Regions from separate parts of the Homo sapiens genome. Here region 1 is linked to region 2. The links are contacts of gene promoters, found by promoter capture Hi-C in human tissues and cell types (Jung and others, 2019). All regions are on one chromosome and are shown on one strand. The core of a region is centred on a gene start or on the middle of the fragment in contact, and the rest is flanking DNA. Distances in the headings are between cores, read along the strand shown.

Region 1 (3,534 bases), core at 821-3,320, 1.7 Mb before region 2:
GTTAGCTCACTGCAAGCTCCACCTCTCGGATTCACACCATTCTCCTGCCTCAGCCTCCCAAGTATCTGGGACTATAGGCACCCGCCACCACCTCCGGCTAATTTTTTTGTATTTTTAGTAGAGACGGGGTTTCACTGTGTTGGCCAGGATGGTCTCAATCTCCTAATCTCGTGATCCCAAAGTGCTGGGATTACAGGCTTGAGCGACCGTGCCCGGCCTATTTCCCTTATCTTTCTTTGTAACATTGTATTTAATAATTGCAGCAAAAATACATGCATTGAATGTGTCAGGGATGCATTATTCTTGAAATTTAAAAGCATACTATACTATATTTTTAAAAGAATAATTTGCGACATGTCAAAGTTATGTTTCATAAGTGTTGTTTAAGTATGTAGAAACAGAACATATTTGTAATTGCTATGTTTTCATTGCTTTCACATGCATTATCTCAGTCCTTCTTTGACCTTATTAGCAGTACATTATTATTCCAGTTTTATAGATCTAAGGACTGAGCCTAGAAAATACAATAATAATTTATTCAATATCTCATAAATAATAAATGATGGAACTGTTACTTTTCTGACTCTGATTTCAAAATAAATTTGAATGAAAACAGTGGAGATTGTGTAGTAAGAAGAAAATATTTCCCAACTGTACTTTTAAATAGTATATATTTTTAATTTAACTACATCATTTTGGTTTTTACTTAGAAATTTTTTTAAAAGTTGAAGAATTGTTCATATTGTTTCACAGGGAAAAGTTGATCTCCCCATATATGTGCATGTATGTATATATGTTCATGTATTAAACACCTTAAAATGCTAGAAATCCTCTATATATTACGAATTTGAGAATCAAAAATTTACTGTTTTTTTTTTTCATTTACCCTTTTCGTTACATTCTAGGATACTTTTTCTTTTCTTTAATATTTATTTCTGTCCTGAATACATAAAGGGAGATTAAAACTGAGGCAGGAGAAAGATTGAATTTCTCCCCTCTGACACATGGTAAGCCCTTCTCAGATATTGACACTGTTTTTGTCCTAACATCAAGAAAATCGCAAGTGGGAAAGCACACCCACCTTCTGGATCAGTACCTTTTAAGTACTTCAAGCAGCAACATTCTTCTAAACCAAACGTCTTTGACTGAATTGTTTTTCCTTTTAAAAATTCTTTGAGAGGACTTCTTGTTTTTGACGTCTGCTTATATGGCACTCTCTCCTGTTACAGAGAAATACTACACAGGAATGCCAGGACCCCAGCAGCAGTATAATTTTCCAGTAGACACCTGTAGCTAGAGCAAACCAAGATTTCAATGGTATAATCTAGAAGCAGAAATGCCAGTCTCCTTGTTTCCATTTCACCTTCCTCCCTTCCTTCTAGTGGTTTTAGGAAGCAAACCCTTCGTCAGTATGCTGGACCATCAGTCTGGGCACAACTGTTCTCTAAATTAAGTTAAATATTTTTCTTACCTATTTAAAACATTAAAGCCTTGGTTATACTTTTGCAAGCTTGCTGTATTTTAATTTCTCCAGGACAGTATAATCAGTTTTAAAAAATGTTTTTAATTTGATTCTCCATTCTAATGCATTGCATATTATAGCAAATAGTAATAGAAGTTAGCTAAATAGGCTGTGACAATTAAATTAATAATGCATTTTGTTTGCAAGTATTTAGGCCTTGTGCTTTGACTGATATATGCAAAAATTATAATTTATTAAAAATAAATCCATATACTTGTACTATAATGTTTGATGATCCAATAAATTTTGTCAGCATGGCTATCATTAGAAACAGAAAACTAAATTATTTCAAATATTTTCTTTGAGACTCTGTGAACACCTGAGGTGATGGCTTGTGTAAGATTATACTTTTTTGTTCCTACATCTGCATTAAATTATTTTAGTGCAGTATCCTACAGTATTTCTGAAATCCTACACACTTAAATTCAAACAATTACATATAACCACATTCAGTTCACATTCTAAAATAATAAACTCCAGTTAACTTGCAAGTTCATTTGAAAGTATTCGCTATTTTAAATGAGTAATTCTCTTTGTGGTATAAGTAAGCCAAAGCATCTTTATGACTCTTTGAATTGACTAATAGTAATCTAGAAAACGAGCTTATCTACAATTATCACAATTGGAACAGCCATACTAAGTATATCTTCTGTGAAAGCCAGGTGCAATTACAATGGAAGTGGATGGTATTCGTCGTTCAGTGCTGGAAATCAGCTGGGTTTTGAATGACTGTGTAAATAGGAGGACAGGGAAATGATTCGTGTAGAGCTTTGCATTTGATCCATTGCTTTTGTGGTGTCAGAGATGCTGTCAGGACATATCTGCACTGGCAGCATCTCAAGAAGGCTGATAAACTCAGAAAACTACCAAAGAAGAATTTTAAATTAGATGCGTGTGTCATAAAGTATAAGCGTTAAATAATTTCATAACCCAGGAAAAGTACTTGTGTTTTTACTGGTGAATATTCAGATCAAAACCTTACGTATTTCTTCCAGTGCAGCCATTTTTGTCGGAGTCTGTGAAGTTTCTTACCCTCAGTGCATTTTTGTTAGCATAGCTGTTGGGTGTGTTCAGGCTACTGGATTTGGCTCAGGGCTTCTTAGTATTTTTGCTCAGGCTAAGATTTCCTCTGGGGTCCTCCAGATTACTGAGCCCTGAAATTTGTGCTGGCCTCTCCCCTTTTATGAGACATTTGGGATATGGGGTTAGCTGTCTTTCTTTTAGCAGCACCATTGATCTTATTGATGAGTCAAATCTTTACCCCACCTAATGTAATTGCGGAGAGATGTCTCAGAGCCCTGATGCTTATTCTAATTTATTTGAAGCCAGTATAATAGGACATGGCATTGTATGGGTCTTTTGGAGACTCTTTTCTCTCCTTTTTCTCTATTTTCTCAAAAACTTGCATATTTATAAGTTGAAGTGGCATAAAAGCATCATTGCTATTTTTCAAGTTTACACAGGAGCGTCACCTTTTTTTTATGAAACATGAAAATATCTGAAACAGCAGCATCTGTGGAAAAGCGCATGCACCTGGCATGCACCTGGCATGCAGATGTCACTCACATGGCACACACATGTCACCCACATGGCACACACAGCATGTACATGGCATGCACATGTCACTCACATGGCATGCACATGGCCCACATGGCACACACGTCACTCACATGGCACGCACATGGCACTCACATGGGACACACATGTCACATGGCACACACGATGTCACTCACATGGCACACATGATGTGTGCAGTTGTGACTGATGCTTCACAGGGTTGTTTACAAGCTTAGATGATGTTATATGAGAAAAGCCATGCGTTTATAGAAACCCTGAGGAAATTATTGGGGAACAGATTAAATTTTTTCTTATTAGAAGATATTCTATTCATCATATATGACTGACCTCCGACGTCACAGTTGTCACTGTTTTCCACCTTAAAGAAATAACTTCTAAGTTGTTCTTGTTGCATATATTTCATTTTATTAAAGGGAAAACAGTTTTCCTCTATT
Region 2 (3,832 bases), core at 1,033-3,532:
ATGGGCTCATGCACGCGCACGCGCGCGCTCACACACACACCCCAAATTACCTCCGGGATGGAGAAAGCCGCTGCGGATTGGCCAGCAGAGCCGTCACTCACGCCCAGGGGGCAGGGAGACTTCGCAAAGCTGTTTCCTTTTTTTTTTTTCCTCCTCTCCTCCCTACCGTTTCATTTAATGGTAAAACAACAGCAGAGCTCTGAAAGTTAGCCATCTGCGCAGAGTTTGCCTTCTTTAAGGAGGGAGGCGTCAGACGATATCCATTTAAATATATTTTGTACTTCCACAAAGGATGGAAAGGGAAATTCACGAAGGGAGTGGAGGCGGAAAGGGAGCTCCGAGAAAGAAGGAGGGGTCATTCCGCGGGGGGCGGGGGGGGGGGCGGGGGCCGACGCAGGGGAAAGAGTTGCTCTCTACACCGAAAAGGGACTTTGACCTTCCATTGATCTCGAAATTCAAAAACGTTTCTTCACAGGTCAGATTGTAACAAACACTCGTTCCTAATTTATGAACTCGCCGTTTTGATTTTATTATTTAAGCATGCGCCAGCAATCGTGTTTCCTTAAGAAAGAACTGACCTATTTTTGGCTGGAGATAAACGATCATGTTAACAGATGTTAATCTTGTAATCTGTTTTTCCTGTAAGCACTTTACCTAGCCGGGTTTCAGACCTTAAAAATAACATCTTTTCCAAAAAGACCTGACGTCACAATTCACTCCCTGAAAAATCACACTCCCCCTCCAGTTTCTTCCCCTGCAATGATTTCAAAGACATTAAATCTTTTCCACTTTATAAATGCTGATCTGTTCTGCCTCTACTCCCACAGGCTCTTATTTGCATTTCAAATTCCACAGGTTACACCAGTCGCCTTTTCAAAAAATGTAAACCAACAATGCAGCAGCAAATGGCTTTTTGTGCATCTGGATTAAATAAAGCACAGAATGAATATATTTAAAAAGAGGGCTGCGCAAGTTGATCTTTGCACACCCGGAGACCCGGTGACTCTTTATCAGCGGAATGAGTAAGACACACACACAGCCCCCAGAGCTCCCGGTCTGCTGCGGGAAGCTTATTAACGCTGATAATAGATGAGGCTGACTTACAGACCCACATTTTTCGGGTAAAAGGCTGGTTCCCTCTGGTCCCTAATTGCGGGGGTCCACTGGCTTTCCTCACCACACACATAAACTGCTGCTTTTAAATACCCCACTCGGCTGCCATTTAACAAACTTATTCATACAAAGTTTCGTTAAAACTTGAGGCGGTTTAATCTAAATACTGATCGTAACTATTCAGTCTGTTAGTTCTCCCTGGAAATGGCAGCGGAGGCGCCTCCCCCCACCTCCCGCCCAACCACACACACCCCACCGCATTCTTCCTTCATACACCCGGGTTCATCTCGCCACCGAGGCCTCCCCCACCCGCACCCGGCGGGGCGCAGCTCCGAGGAGTCCCTGCCCACCCCTCTCCGAGTCGGTGCCAGACCCTCGCCCCCACCCCCACCCCCGCCCGAACTTCCCTTCCAGGACCTCTCACTTCTTTAACGTTAGGGTCACTTAGAAGCTCCCAGCAGACTGGCAAGCAGCCGGGGAGGGGGCCGTAAAAAACAAGGCCACCCCCACCTCCACGCAAACACGTCCCCTAGGCAGCAGCGCGCGGTGCCCACAGGCATCGATCCCATCCGCCAAACCCTTAATAATTGAAGCGGCTCCTCGGGCCCGCAGCCCCATCACCCACCTTCATTAGCCGGAGCGTTTTACTTTAAAGTAAGGCAATTTGCTCTTTGTCTCCTAATGGATGGAGAGCGCATCCGAGCTCCCCTCCTCCCGCGTCGCCTTTGACAAAGTGTACAAAGCCAGAGCCTCTTCCGCGCTCCCACCCCGGCCCCCACCCCGCCCCTCCACTGCGGTAAAAACCACCTCCCGGGCGCTCGCCCCGCCGCCCGAAGTTGCATCTTCCCCTATCCTGGAATTGACGAGCAGAGCAACTACCCACCGGGAAAGCCAAGTAGCCCTCCCCGCGCCCGGGGGGCCCCTCCCCGGCGCACCCCCCTCCCCAGCGCCTCCCCCCCTACCCCCAGCGGCGCACACCAGAGTACGGGGCACGTCGGGGCTCCGGGCCCCGCGCCCACCGCCCGCCCGCGGCCCCTGCGGCGCAGCCCTCCCCCCGCCCGCGGCCCCTACCTTGGCAGGGAGGCGGCGGGCCTGGGGAGGAGGACGCGCACGCCCCGCGCATCTGAAGGTGAAGCCGAGCGCCCGCGGCGCGGAGCCGAGCGCTGCACTAGACCGACCGCGCCAGCTGCGCCCGGGCGCGGGGGACGCGCGAGGGCGCGCGGGGCCCGCCACGCGCCCGGCCCCCTCCTCGCGCCGCCCGCGCGCGCCCCGGACGCGTCCGCCCCGCGGGGGCCCCGGCGCGAGCCGGGCTCGGGGGGCTGCGCGGCACGGGGAGGGGGCCGGGCGCTCACGGCCCGGCGCAGGCCGGAGGCTTCCCCCAGCCTGGAAATGGTCTGCCCTGTAGGAAACGCACACTCCACTATTGTCTCATCAGCACAAAGTTCTGCCACACTGAGGGGACAGTCTGGAGGCTTGCAGTGACTCAGACACAGCCAATTCCTCCCCTAATAGCACTGAATCACGGTTCCAGCGGCCAGTGGTCGCCCCTCGTCAAGGTCTAAGGCTGCTGCAGCCCCGGCTCCCGGAGGCCGTTTCCGCGCGCACACGCGCATCCATACGTACAGACGTGCTCGGGATGCGGGTCCCGCCGGCGGGTACCTGGGCACTGCGCCCCATCTGGACTGAAATGGGGACACCCCTTCGGGGGTCCCAGGTGCGTGTGCATTACACACGGCGTAGCGTGTGCGTGTCACTCAACTTCCTGGTAAATGCCTCTGGGGGTGTTCAGATGCAGGATCAATACATTAAGTCCTGAATCAAGGGTCACAGAGGTCCCGCTGGAAAGACTTCAAACAGCGGCTCTGCCACCCGGCCATTTAAAAATGAAGGGGTTGTTTACCGGTAGCCTCGAAAGTTCAACTCTTATTTTTCTGTTCTTAAAACTTCATTTCTTCACCTCACCTACTCCCCACGAGCAGTAGTTAGTTGTAATAAGTTGAGTCTGGGACTAGAAATCCTAATTTGACTCCAAAACGCTCTCCTGTTACAGGGCAGGGATGGCCGGGGTGGGGGAGGGGAGGGCGGGCGCGCGGGGGCGGGGGAGGGGCGGGTCGGAGCTAGCGAGGGCGAGCGCCCCTTCACGGCCGGTGACGTAGACCCGGGGAGCTGCGGCCTGCGGAGGGGTAACACTATCTTCTCCCACCAGGCTCCTGGCCGTATTGTTCTCCTTCTCCTCGTGATAACTCCGCAGTGGAGGTGGATTCCGTCCAAGACGCCCAACGTGGCTCCGCGTAGCAATCAGCGCTGCAATCCTGGCGGTTACCTCAGCGGCGGCGTCTCTCTCTGCGCCTCACACTCGCAGCCCGCGGCCCTCCCCAACTTAGGGCGTTTACAAAAGAAACTACTCCAGACGCGCTGCAAAGGGAGGCGCATGTGCCCGAAAGCTGGCGATCAGACGGGGGGGGCATTCTGCATGTGTGATGTTTCTGGGGGCGGTGGGGAGTGTGTGTCGGGGTCGGGGGGCGGGGGGGAGTCAGGCAGAAAGACAGGGACAACCTCCGCTATGAAGGATCCGCGAGTCCTCAAATGTAAGCTCCGTGTGACTAACGACCTGCACTGATTTGGAGAGCGGGCATGTTAAAGGTCACGGACAATTGTTGCTGGCTTCAGCATGAATGCCTAAGTGGGATGTATTCTTCAGCAATCACGTTTAAGTCTG

Evidence for each region. Contacts are between HindIII fragments. The study calls those that stand out against the background at their distance.
Region 1: a fragment that was not itself captured here is called in contact with the fragment with the promoter of ZNF516 in region 2 in 1 of the 25 tissues and cell types used here (dorsolateral prefrontal cortex).

Annotation. Positions count from the first base shown.
Region 1 is chr18:74,782,685-74,786,218 of GRCh38, forward strand. The region is part of intron 4 of ZNF407 (zinc finger protein 407); the gene reads left to right. Among named protein-coding and RNA genes, the nearest start is that of ZNF407, 190 kb to the left of the region's middle. The HindIII fragment of the contact is 4,029 bases long and covers 57-3,534 here.
Region 2 is chr18:76,492,960-76,496,791 of GRCh38, forward strand. It overlaps ZNF516 (zinc finger protein 516), which reads right to left and starts at 2,283. Exons shown (of 7, transcript NM_014643.4): 1 at 2,185-2,283. It overlaps ZNF516-DT (ZNF516 divergent transcript), which reads left to right and starts at 2,380. Exons shown (of 2, transcript NR_164145.1): 1 at 2,380-2,827; 2 at 3,320-3,832. ZNF516-AS1 (ZNF516 antisense RNA 1) reads left to right here. Exons shown (of 2, transcript NR_136504.1): 2 at 1-959. RefSeq lists an enhancer at 75-214 and silencers at 1,313-1,402, 2,103-2,202, 2,333-2,392. The HindIII fragment of the contact is 9,582 bases long and covers 1-3,832 here.